Linked DNA regions of Homo sapiens: region 1 is linked to region 2. The links are contacts of gene promoters, found by promoter capture Hi-C in human tissues and cell types (Jung and others, 2019). All regions are on one chromosome and are shown on one strand. The core of a region is centred on a gene start or on the middle of the fragment in contact, and the rest is flanking DNA. Distances in the headings are between cores, read along the strand shown.

Region 1 (6,194 bases), core at 1,266-3,765, 1.1 Mb after region 2:
CATCTTACTGGCCTGGCATTGAGAAGGCCCACGTAGTACTTGCAGACTGAGTGGAGAAATGAAGAAATGAGTTGCAGTAGAGTGATCGTTATAACTGCTTTATCATTACTATACAGTTATATCTATCCTGCCATGTGGGCAAGAATGACAGAAGCCACAGGCAGTCGCCACCTCTTCTGTTGGACTACACTCTGTATGTCACCCAGTCTCCCAGTCATTTTTTCTTCTGTGGTTCATCTTATAGTGTGTGTGTGTATATATTATTGTGTATTCTATGTATTGCTCTCCATAGTAGACACAAGAACCTTAACTACCTAGGAAGCTTGTAGGTAGGTGTGCCTTTTGTGCCACAGTCACGTGTATAGAAACAAAATGCCATCAAAGGAACCACTAGAGACCTGCCAGAAACTGACAAGAGATCAGGCCACTGCAGCAAATGTGGAATTTGGGTCTCTCTTAGGCGGTGTTGATGAGAGACTGGCTGGACACAAATGGCCAGAAGACAAGCCTGCTGGGCCTGCGCAACTCTCATTTCAGGCTTTGTTCTTCCCTAAGCTCTTTCACCCACAAGCACTTCCTGGACCATTTAAGATAAACAGGTTGAGTTAAGTTCATAGATGCCCACTGAGTTCTCATGGGTGTCCAGATGCCTCTTTTAATCCTCATGGGAAAAATCGGATATAAATAAACAATGAGATAGGTAGGTGGATAGCTAGCTATGTACATTACATTAGATAACTTAGTAGGTGAATTAGCTACAAGCATCTGGGCCTTGTTTGTAGATGTGTGTAGGTGAGGTAAGGCTGTAGCAGCTAATGTCAGTTCATTTTTGGTCTCAATGGAAGCAAGGCTTAAACACTGTCGATACTTTTCCAGGAGAAAGGTAAAAAAAGGTTAACAAGCTTAGCCCTTATGAAGGAAAGGAAGGCTGCTAAAAACAGTGTTTGGTTACCTGCAGTGTCAGGACTGTGATTCAAATCTGTGTCCTCTCTGTGAGGCTGGTGTGGCCTGGCTGCCTTGAGGGTCACCACTGCAGGAGTCACCTGATGGTCCAAGTTCAGGTTCTGTCTCTGCTACTTATCAGTTTTGTGATTTTGGGCCTCAGTTTCCTCACCTGTAAAATGGGAATGATAATAGTACCCGCCTGAAGGGTCATTGTGAGGAATAAATGAGTGAATTTGCGTAACATACTAAGAACAGCCCTGGCACATAGTCAGAGTTCATTTGCTCCGTCTAGGCACAGGACATTGGTTTAGATGATCTTCCTCTGAATTATTATGCCCACAGACAATCAGGGGAAATCTGGGCCTCTGCAAGTCTGGCAGAGTAGAGTTTTTGCTACATCATTGCTTGATCTTGACTGTGAAATGTGTTTTTGCTTTCTATGGGGATGTCACAGGAGACTTCATTCTCCTTGGTGATATCAGTTTCACCTGGATCCCTGAGCTCTCTAACAGGAAGACAAATACCAGCCGGGTCTAACTCGTCTAGGATTGCCTAGGCTTCTGTTTGCTTTCGATAGAATTTGCTTTTTGACCAGTGTGCAGAAATTCCAAGCCCTGTTTAGGTCTTGGAGTTGGGAGGGAGGAGGAGAAGGAAAAGTAGGAACACAGAGACCAGTCATCCAAGGGAAATGATTTAAGAGCCTCCCAGACAGTGAAAAATCCACCATTCATTATTGAGGGAAAAAGCAGTTAACAAGAAACTCAGCCCTAAGGTTAACATGGTCATGCAGAGTGACTTGCATGCAGGGAGGACTTTGATGCAAGTGTATGTAGGTGGCTGCAGTTAACCAGGGAAGACTTCCTGGAGGATCTCAGATACAGGGAAGGAAGGTAGGATCCACTCGGTCATTCTGACCAAGATCAGGGCCCTTGGGGGTTTCCTGGATGTTGGCCAGCACTCAGGGTTCAAATCCTGCCTTTGCCTTTTTGTGTCTGATCTGAAGCAATTAGCCTCAGCCCTGCCCCCATCTATAAAAAGGGGATGTGTAAGAATCAATATGTTTGTTTTGTTTGGGCATGGTAGGTGGTCAGTTAAGTGTTTTTAAATATTTTTAATATTTTACTGAGTGTGGAGTTCTGTATCAGGCACTGGAAATGCAAATCTGAATGGAGCCTAGTTCCTGCCCAGGCCAGGGGGAGGCAGGTTCACCTGGAAGACACTGATGAACTGGTTAAGCCACAGGCCTGGCTCAAGGCAGACATCCCAGGCTTCTTGGGGGAACAGCACTGTTTGACCCATTGGATTAGCAAAAAACCTCTTCCTTCCAACACAGGCTATCTATGGACTCTAGGTTGTGCCTGTTTTCCATGAATGAATCCAGGTCAGAGGGTATGAGGGGCTGGTCACCCTGGAAGCATGGCCCAGCCCAGCAGCAGCAGTGCGCCCTTGCCCACCCCATGGGGACCCAGTTGTGCCTTCCACCTGCTTTCAGAGGGCAGTCACTGACCACAGCTCTGTTAGAAGATCTGCTTGACATAATGAGGCTTCACAGTTTGGGACTTTATCTCGTCATTCTGGGGCCTAGGAGGGGACGTGTGGAAACACCTCCCAGTGTCCAGAAGCCATCCCAGCACATCGTGGGGCTCCTGCCTGGAGCCCTGAAACATTTCCTGTGGCCACATTCCAGCCCCCTGTGCTTTGCGTACATTGAACCTTGTATTAGTCAGGGTTCTCTAGAGGGACAGAACTACTAGGATAGATGTATACATAAAGGGGAGTTTATTGAGGAGTATTGACTCACACAATCACAAGGTGAGGTCCCACAATAGGCCGTCTGCAAGCAAGGAAGCCAGTCTGAGTCCCAAAGCTGAAGAACTTGGCGTCCAATGTTTGAGGGCAGGAAGCATCCAGTGCAGGAGAAAGATGTAGGCCAGGAGGCTAAGCCAGTCTAGTCTTTTCATGTTCTTCTACCTGCTTTTATCCTGGACACACTGGCAGCTGATTAGATGGTGCCCACCCAGATTGAGGGTGGGTCTGCCTTTCCCAGTCCACTGACTCAAATGTTAATCTCCTTTGGCAACACCCTCTTCATCCTTCAATCCAATCAAGTTGACATTCGATATTAATCATCACAAGCCTCCCACCTAGAGTCTCTTTCTTGCAAATCTCACCATCAACATCTTCCCATAGTTCAAAACCCAGCTCAAACAAGGGTATGCTGACTCCTCTGTGGAATTAGTCTCCAGACTCCTTTCTCGGCATGTCCCACCAGGAACAACAATGTGTAAAGGCAGAGAGTTCAAAGTGTAAGAGCAGGATGGAGAGAGAGGAGGCCAGGAAGACTGGGTGGGCCCTATTTTGACAGGACTGAAACGCCAATGGCTGAATCTCTCTGCATTGGGGAGCTACTGAGAATTACTGACAAGGGGAGAGGTCTGGTGAGCTTGGCAACTGAAGAGATTTCTCTTTCCACAATGAATAGTGGAGTGGGGTGGACTGGGAGAAGGCTAGAAACCTGGAAGCAAGGTGATTAGGAGGCAGTTGGAGGAATTTCATCAGCTTCCCCAAATGCCAGTAGAAAAGTATATGCCAGATTTACAATATTCACATGGGGAATTAGCAAAAATATAGATTCTGGGTCCCTTTCCCACAAATTCTATTTCAGTGGATTTGGAATAGGGCTAGAACCTGTGCTTTTATCAGACACCACAGACATTTCAGAGGTGGGGAGGTGGACTATTCAATAATGCTGTTGGGACAACTGGCTAGCTAGGGAGTAAAAAAACTTAAGCTTTATCTTTACCTCACTCCTTACACACAAATAAGTGCCAGATGGAGCCAAGGTGACAATGGAAAGGAAAGAAGAGAGGAAAGGAGGGAAAAAATAAATCATAATGGAACTAGAAGAAAATTTGGGTGACATTCTAAAAAGTAATATTGGATGTGAAACCTAAAAGTCATAAAGGGAAAAATTAATGGTACATTTAACCACATGGAAACAAAAAAAAATTCTGTACAGCTAAGACTAATGATAAAGAGAAGATATCTGCAACCTATATGTAAAGGATCAATAGCTTCAATATCAAAAGAGTTTATGTAAACCAGAAAAATAGTCTCCCAAATGAAATAACTGAATATGTTTATGCAAAAATGCTAAGCCTCTCTAGAGATCAAGAAACAGGTTTTAAAACATAAGATATCGGCCAGGCGGGGTGGCTCACACCTGTAATCCCAGCACTTCGGGAGGCTGAGGCAGGGGATCACTTGAGGTCAGGAGTTCAAGACCAGTCTGGCCGCCATGGTGAAACCCCATCTCTACTAAAAATACGAAAATTATCTGGGTGTGGTGGTGCACGCCTGTAATCCCAGCTACTCAGGAGGCTGAGGCAGGAGAATTGCATGAACCCAGGAGGCAGAGGTTGGAATGAGCTGAGATCAAGTCACTGCACTCCATCCTGGGCAACAGAGCGAGACTCCATTTCAAAAAATAATAATAAAATAATTATAACTGAAACGTAAGATATCTTTGTGGTAGGCAAAATAATGGACCCCCAAACTATCCACATTCTAAACCCTGGAAACTGAATATGTTGCCCATTATGGCAAAAGATAATTTGTAGATGTGATTTAATTAAGGATCTTGAGGTGGAGAGATTATCCAGGTGGACTCAATGTAATCACAAGAGTCCTTAGGAGAGGGAGAGAGGAGTCAATATTAGAATGATTTGTTATGAGAAAGATGCGGCTGGCTGTTACCAGCTTTGCAGGTGGAAGGGGAGCCTTCCATGAGCCAAGGAATTCAGGTACCCTCTAGAAGTTGGGAAAGGCAAGGAAAGGGATTCTCCTCTAGGGCCCCCAGAAAGAAAAGTGGCCCTGCTGACACCTTGCTTTTAGCCGAGTGAGACCTATTTCAGACGTCTGACCACTCGAACTATAAGATAGTAAATTTTGCATTAAGCCACTAAATTTGTGGTAATTTCTTACAGCAGCAATGGGAACCAAATACAACCATTTTGCCTTTCTTATTAGCTAATGTTAAAGAGACAGTTTATATTCCAGATAGGCAGGAGGTTAGGGAAATAGTGCTCACCCGCCATTGGCGGAAGTGTAAATTTCTGCTTTTTGAAGAGCTATTTGCCAGTCCCCATGAAAAGCTTCAAGGTGTATCCCCTTTAATCAAGTATTCTCCCTTCTAGGAGGTTAGCCTGTGATATACTCATACAAGTATGCAGAAGATATTCTATGTAGCATTTCTTGGAATAGAAACAGCTGGAAACAACCTTCATATCTATCAGTAAGGGACTGGCTGAGTTTGAGTACAGCCAAAAATGGAATACAGTGCTGCTGCCCGCAAAAAGAAAGAGGTAAACCTAGATATCCATACATAGATTTAAAAAAAGAAAAAAAACAAGTCGCAGATCAATATAAATACATTAGGACGTCGGGAAGAACATATATTAAATTAACTGTAGCTTCTCTGGGGAGGGGCATGTGGGGACAGGGAGATTCAGGGGAAAGAGCCAAGGATGGTACAATTCTGCAGTGGTTTAAAATTTTTCAAGTAATTTTTCATTTAAGAATTTTCGTTTAAAAGAAGGAGAAAGTTCCCCAGCATTTCTGTTCTGTCGTTGGTCTTTGGAACTTCTGGTCTCGACAAAACTAGGGGTAGGAACCCAAGCCCAAAGGAGAGGCAGGGGACAGAAACAACCAGATTTGGGGATTGATGACATGGCTGGGGACAGGGGTGGAGGTGGTGACAGCCCAAGAGAGGGTCAGCAGGTCAGGACCTGGCCAGGGCCTAGACTGGCAGAAGCCGGTGTCCAGGAGGCCTGGGCTGCTTGCTGGGATACATGCGGATCCCTGGGCAGGGGTAGTTTTCTCTGCACAGAACCCCCTGATTGCTGGTAGGTCAATGCTGTGGGATACCCTGACCTGAGTGAGGTTAGAATGTTATAGGTGAGCCAAGCATCTGCAGAAAAGGCAGGGCTTCCACCAACAATTGCAGGTTGCCTGGTGTCAGCAACTATAGCTCAGGCCAGCACAGGATCCTTCCCCAGCCCTTCCCCCAGAGAAGCCAAGAGGATGGTGGGCCAGTAGGTGGGCCTGACCTTGCCAGTCCACCTCTCAGTCAGTCCCACGGGGAGGGTTGCCTTTTACAAAGATTAGCAGGTATCACTAGATGGATGCTCACTTTGACCAAGGTCTAACAGGAATTTGAGGCATAAGTTACCATGTGGAATTCTCCTCAG
Region 2 (6,214 bases), core at 1,229-3,728:
ACAAAATCTCCACCCTGAATCATGAAATCCTTTATGACCCTGAAACAGAGAGCAAAGAATACTGAGAAGATTTTATGGTTTAGAAAAACATAGATGTTGTTATTATTGTATTAGATTAACGTTGATTTCAAAATACACTATCACTTTGGCTATTATAAAATCATTACTCTTAGCTGGGTGCGGTAGCTCACGCCTGTAATCCCAGCAGTTTGGGAGGCCGAGGCAGGCAGATCACATGAGGCCAGGAGTTTGAGACCAGCCTGGCCAACATGGCAAAACCCCGTCTCTACTAAAAATACAAAAATTAGCCGAGCGTGGTGGCACATGCCTGTAGTCCTGGCTACTCGGGAGGCTGAGGCAGAAGAATTGCTTGAACCCAGGAGGCGGAGGTTGCAGTGAGCCAAGATCATGCCACTGCACTTTAGCCTGGGCGACAGAGTGGGACTCTGTCTCAAAAAAACAAAACAAAACAAAAAAAACCTGAAGATTATTCTTTTCCTGAATGATTAAGCTGAAAGGATAATTAACCATAAAAAAGGATTTTCGTTATAAATTAGGGCATGTTAGAGTTGATCAAGTGCATGATCTGGTACCTGAACAGTAATAAGAAGAAGGGGCTGAAAGCTTACTTGCCAAAGCAAAAGGCAGAGCAAGGGTTTGATGTAAATTTGGGGGAAAGAACTACAGAGAATTTATGTGAAATGTACTGCTAAACATGTAAGGGCTTAACAACTGTTAGCTATTACCCCTAGGGAGGGTCCTTAACCTTTCTTATCCTCAGTTTCCTCCTCTGTAGAATGCAGATCACCCATACCACTTCACAGGAGTCTTACTGGGGATTAGAGACCCAAAGCTCTAAAGCTGTGATATAATTATGTGCTAACATTGTTACTAACCACAGTGAGGCCATGAGAAAGATTCTATATTGAAATGAGACTAAGTGTTGACATACTCCACTCCCCAGGAAATATGATTATCCTTGGACAATCATATATGATCATTTTAGGAATTAGTTATAAATATCAACCAGCAGGATATATTATATGCACTTTAGGATTACAAGTGTACTTTTTAAAAAATCTGCATTCGCACAAACAAGTGCATGAAAAAGACAAGATATTGTAAAGATGAGTAGTTTCTGTTTTAAAGACCTAAGAAGTGGGGGAGTGTAAGTAGAGTTAGAACATTTAATAAATCTTCAGTTGTTGAGTCCACAAAAACATTTCTTCTCAAGAAATGTAAGAATTACCCTCTGGTTTTATTTTCCTCTAAAGAGCCTAATCCCCCAGGAAATATTTCTGAAAGACTCCAGGATGGCTTGCCAAGAGCCTTACCTGTGGAAGGTGCTTCCTTTGTATCCTATTGGAACCCCATCTTTCCTATAACCGAAAAGAAAGAGACTTGGAGTGACAGCAGGTAGCACAAGGCCTTTCCAGTTTACCATGCACTGGAGCCAAAAGGACTCTCCTAAAGATGGTTGACAGACATAAAGAAGGCAAATAAACTAGGGACAGACCCTTGGGGCATTACCTTCTATCACTGTCACCAGCAATCATTCAAGGCCAGCAGGTGGTTCACCGATACCCTCACTGCAGCCCCAGAACACCCCTCTGGAGCAGGCAAAGAAGTCAAACACATCTGAAACTGACCTGAATTCTCCGGTGCAGAACTGCCTGAAAGGGACAAAAAATGAATGATTCAATCACTATGATGTCACAGTCGTGAGCGCCTCTAAATACGGGAAAGAATAAACACTGGAGCCAGCAAGTCCACCAATCGGCCAGCCAGACGTCCAGACACGCAGTCACACAGACTAACAACGTAAATTAACACGGGAACAATCCAAACGGCAACCAGACAGAGCAATGCATGGAGGAATCAGGTCTCAAGAGCAGTGAGCGGACGGACAGAGGTAGACAGGCTATTTCAGGCGGCTGACTGGAGCCCGACTTCTGCCTCAGCTAATCCAGCGGAGCTGGAGCACGTCCTTACCTAAAGTTCTCGGCCGTCTTAGGCACAACGTCTGCAAAGAGCTCGATCTTCATGCGGCCAACTTCCTGCAATCAGCGGGAGAGTGTCAGAAGGCCCAGTCCAAGACCATGAGGGCTTCACGGAGCAGGGGGCATGATGGGCTGACCCACCACCCTGCCGCTCGGTATCTCCCACCTCCGCCTCCCTAGTCTAACCGCCCAGTTCCTCCAGAAGCGGGGCGCTAGGATTGGGGAGACTCCTCCTCCTCCTTTCCCCCCGCCCGGCAGGTCGGTAGGTTCGGGTGCAATTTCACTTTCTGGCTGGCTTCCCGAGTCCGCTCTCTCTGGGTGAGTTCTGCCTGCCTAGCCCCGAGCAGTTTCCCTTCGGCGCAGGTGTGGGCAGCCTCCTGGATCTCACCTGACCGCCAATACTGACATCAAAGAACACCACGGGGTTAACAGGACTTGAATTTGCCACCGCCATGGCTCCGACCCGGAAGCAGAAGTCGGGAGCGTGGGATTCCGGCGAACCTAAAGCCCGGTCCGCGGATTTCGTCCGGGGAGCAGGCGCGGTAGACGTGGAGCGAGACCAGGCTCCGCCCCCGGAAGCTGTCGCCCCGTGCGGTGTGTGCTGAGACTGCTAGGGTCTAGCTGAGAGACTCTGCCTGGCACTGGGGACGCGGGAGTGAGGAGGAGGAAAGCCTTGACATCTTTTTGGTTAAGGTCAATGGTCACCCCACTCACGTGGCTGTACTAAGGGCAGTACAAGTTGATCTTGCTCTAGCTAGGACTTTTGGACTAGGCAGTCGCCAGGGTCCTCCTTATCGGCTCTTGCAGCCAAGCCCTCTGCACCGCCACACGTGCTGTCTGTCTTCTGCCCGCTAGTGTGAACACCGTGAAGGCAGGAACTCTGGTTTGTTCATCCTCAGCGTTTAGAACAGCTTGGCACGTACAGGCTTGCTAAGTAAATATCCCTTCCTCTAAGTCAGGACAATAGATAATGTTTGTTCTGCCACAAAAGCTACCAGTTTTGTCATTTCCAATTCATTTCCCATAAAGCAACTAGAGTTTTTTATTTTTTATTTTTAAAATAACTCTTGTGCTTCCTATTTATTTTAAAAATAACTCCTGGCTTCCCATATTTAGAATAAAATCCAATTCCGTGCATACGAAGCCCTACAGTGCATTTATCTGGCTATCACGTACCTGACCTCATCTTGTACCACTTGCCCTTAGTTACTGTGCTCTGACCTGTCTGTTCCTCCAGGTCACTGAGATCCCTCCTCTCTTTAGGGCTTTGTAATAGCTGTTACTTCTGTCTGAAATATTCCTTCCAGAACTTAATGTGGGTTGGCGGGGGATTGTGGGGGTTGGTTGGGGTATGCGTGTGGGAAGTAATGCTCCTTGTAGTTCAGGGCTCACCCCAGATGTTACCTCCTGAGAGGCAACATTAGACCTAATCTAAAGTAGCCCTTGGTCATTCAGATCACTGGTTTGTTTTCTTCATGCCACCCCCACTTCCACATTATCTTCGTATGGTATGTGTCTACACCTCATTTCCTGCCACACACACATAATCTTCCTCCCTGATAGCATATAAACTCCATGAAAGTAGAGACTCTCCTGGTCCTATTCGCAGCTGTAGCTGCAATGTCGCCTACTGAATAGCATATAGTAGGTATTCAATAAATAATAGATGCAATGAATTTAGTGAAAGAAGGGGACCTTGGGCAAGGCTCATTCAATATAACAGCATGCATTTAATAAAATAGTTATTATTTCCTAGTTCCTATGATCATCTTTCTAGCTCTGTTGTCTGAGAAAGCAAGGATTACATATAAAAATACAGTGTGTCTCAATGTAAAGGGTCATTTTTATTTCTGGTTACTGATCCTCTCCTCTTGGTCTCCTCCAACTGAAAAAGAAGAAAGGGGAGGAGGGGGAAAAGGAACAGCAGCAGTCACGCTTCAGTATAATTTTATACCAACTGTTTTAGAATAAATCTTTAAAATTGATAATATCCAATGTTGATGAGGTTGTGAAAAAAATAGTACATTGATAAACCTCTAGTGAAAATAAATGATGATAGCATTTATTAAGCAGTTACTACGTGCTAAATACTTTACATGCTTCATTTCATTTGGTCCTCACAACCCTATGGGATAGAGAACTATTATTGTTCCCATTTTAGGAATCAAGAAATTGAGGCTCAAGGAGGTTGAGTAACTTGACTATGAAAACAGTATGTTGACACACTTTTTATTTATTTTATTATTTATGTATTTATTATTATTATTTTTTGAGACAGAGTCTCACTTTTTGCCCAGGCTGGAGTACAGTGGAGTGGTCTCAGCTCACTGAAACTTCTACCTCTTGGGTTCAGGTGATTCTCGAGCCTCAGCCTCCCGCATAGCAGGGACTACAGGTGTGCACCACCATACCCGGCTAATTTTTGTATTTTTAGTAGAGACAGGGCTTTGCCATGTTGGCCTGGCTGGTCTTGAACTCCTGGCCTCAAGTGATCCACCTGCCTCGGCCTCCCAAAATGCTGGGATTATAGGCGTGAGCCACCGCACCTGGTCAGGCAGAACCCTTTTTTAAAGCAAAGGAAGTGATGTCCTAGAGCAATATTAACATTTATATCCTTTGACTCAGTCCAATCTTGCGAATTTGTTTTCTGGAGTAATTCAAAAGAAGAAAAGAACTACATGCACAAAGACCTTCAACACAGCATAATCTTAAATAGTAACAAAGTAAAACCAGGCCTGGCATAGAGGCTCATCCTATAATCCTATCACCTAGGAGGCTTAGGTGGGAGGATCACTTGAGCCCAGAAATTTGAGACCAGCTTGAACAATAGAGTGAGAGTGAGACCTCGTCTTTACAAAAAGTACAAAAATGAGCCAGGCATGGTAGCACATGCCTGTACTTGGGAGAGGCTGAGGAGAGAGGATCACTTAAGCATGGGAGGTTGAGGCTGCATGAGCAGTAATCAAACCACTGCACTCCAGCCTGGGTTACAAAGTGAGACCCTGTCTCAAAAAAAAAAAAAAAAAAAAAAAAGTAAAAACAGCTTAAATGCCAAACAAGAGAACGTTTAATTTATAGAACATCCACATCCTCAGAGATACTGAGCAGTACTGTTCCACCCTGATAGATGAAATGGATGTGAATGTTGCTGATCTTTTCTGAAGAAGCAGTCCCACTACACTAAAGATGAGCTGGAGACTGTTCACCTACTTTGTACTCCTGTTTGGAAATATTTAGGGGTAGTTTCTGTGTAATGGGGTTTATGTGAACTCTCTTCTCATACCCCCTCCCCCAGGAAAAGCTCTTGGTATTTTCCTATCCACTTTTATTTTATTTTATTTTATTTATTTTTTCGAGATGGAGTCTTGCTCTGTCACCCAGGCTGGAGTGCACTGGTGCAGTCTCGGCTCACTGCAACCTCTGCCTCTCGGGTTCAAGTGATTCTCCTGCCTCAGCCTCCCCAGTAGCTGGGACTACAGGCGCGCGCACTACCACACCTGGCTAATTGTTTTTGTATTTTTGTTAGAGACGGGGTTTCCCTAAGTTGGCCAAGCTGGTCTCGAACTCCTGACCTCAGGTGATCTGCCCACCTCGGCCTCCCAAAGTGCTGGGATCACAGGTGTAAGCCACCACGCCCAACCTCCTATCCACTTTTAAATAATGTATTGCTCTAAATCTTCTTCATTAAACATTTAAAACTTTTCCCATAAAAATAATTATAGAACATCAACATGATTGAATATCATATGGCGATTGAAAATGTTTCCATGGTATATACAGTAAATTAAAAATCAAACTGTGAAAATGAATATACAATATTATAATAACCACTTAGAATATATGTACTTGAATTAGGACCAAAAGGGAATAACTGTAAAATAAAATTAGTTGTGTTAAGACTGTGGTATTGGTGTAATCCCAGCACTTTGGGAGGCTGAGGTGGGTGGATCACCTGAGGTCAGGAGTTCAAGACCAGCATGGCCAACATGGTGAAACCTTGTCTCTACTAAAAATACAAAAATTAGCTGGGCATGGTGGCGGGCACCTATAATCCCAGCTACTTGGGAGGCTGAGGCAGGAGAATTGGTTGAACCTGGGAGGCAGAGGTTGCAGTGAGCGGAGATCATGCCACTGCACTTCAGCCTGGGTGACAGAGTAAGAGACTCCGTCTCAAAAAAAAAAAAAAAAGCTTATGGTATTATAGGAGGGTTTTT

The links. Contacts are between HindIII fragments. The study calls those that stand out against the background at their distance.
Region 1: a fragment that was not itself captured here is called in contact with the fragment with the promoter of PPIH in region 2 in 1 of the 25 tissues and cell types used here (dorsolateral prefrontal cortex).

What each region holds. Positions count from the first base shown.
Region 1 is chr1:41,592,474-41,598,667 of GRCh38, reverse strand. The region is part of intron 3 of HIVEP3 (HIVEP zinc finger 3); the gene reads left to right. The region is part of intron 1 of LOC128125817; the gene reads left to right. Among named protein-coding and RNA genes, the nearest start is that of EDN2, 110 kb to the right of the region's middle. The HindIII fragment of the contact is 3,806 bases long and covers 613-4,418 here.
Region 2 is chr1:42,654,687-42,660,900 of GRCh38, reverse strand. PPIH (peptidylprolyl isomerase H) reads right to left here and starts at 2,478. Exons shown (of 10, transcript NM_006347.4): 1 at 2,389-2,478; 2 at 1,993-2,057; 3 at 1,650-1,673; 4 at 1,335-1,379; 5 at 1-39. The coding sequence starts at 2,454. It overlaps CCDC30 (coiled-coil domain containing 30), which reads right to left. Exons shown (of 21, transcript NM_001395517.1): 21 at 3,711-6,214. All of the region lies in intron 1 of LOC124904162 (a long non-coding RNA gene), which reads left to right. The HindIII fragment of the contact is 7,698 bases long and covers 1-6,214 here.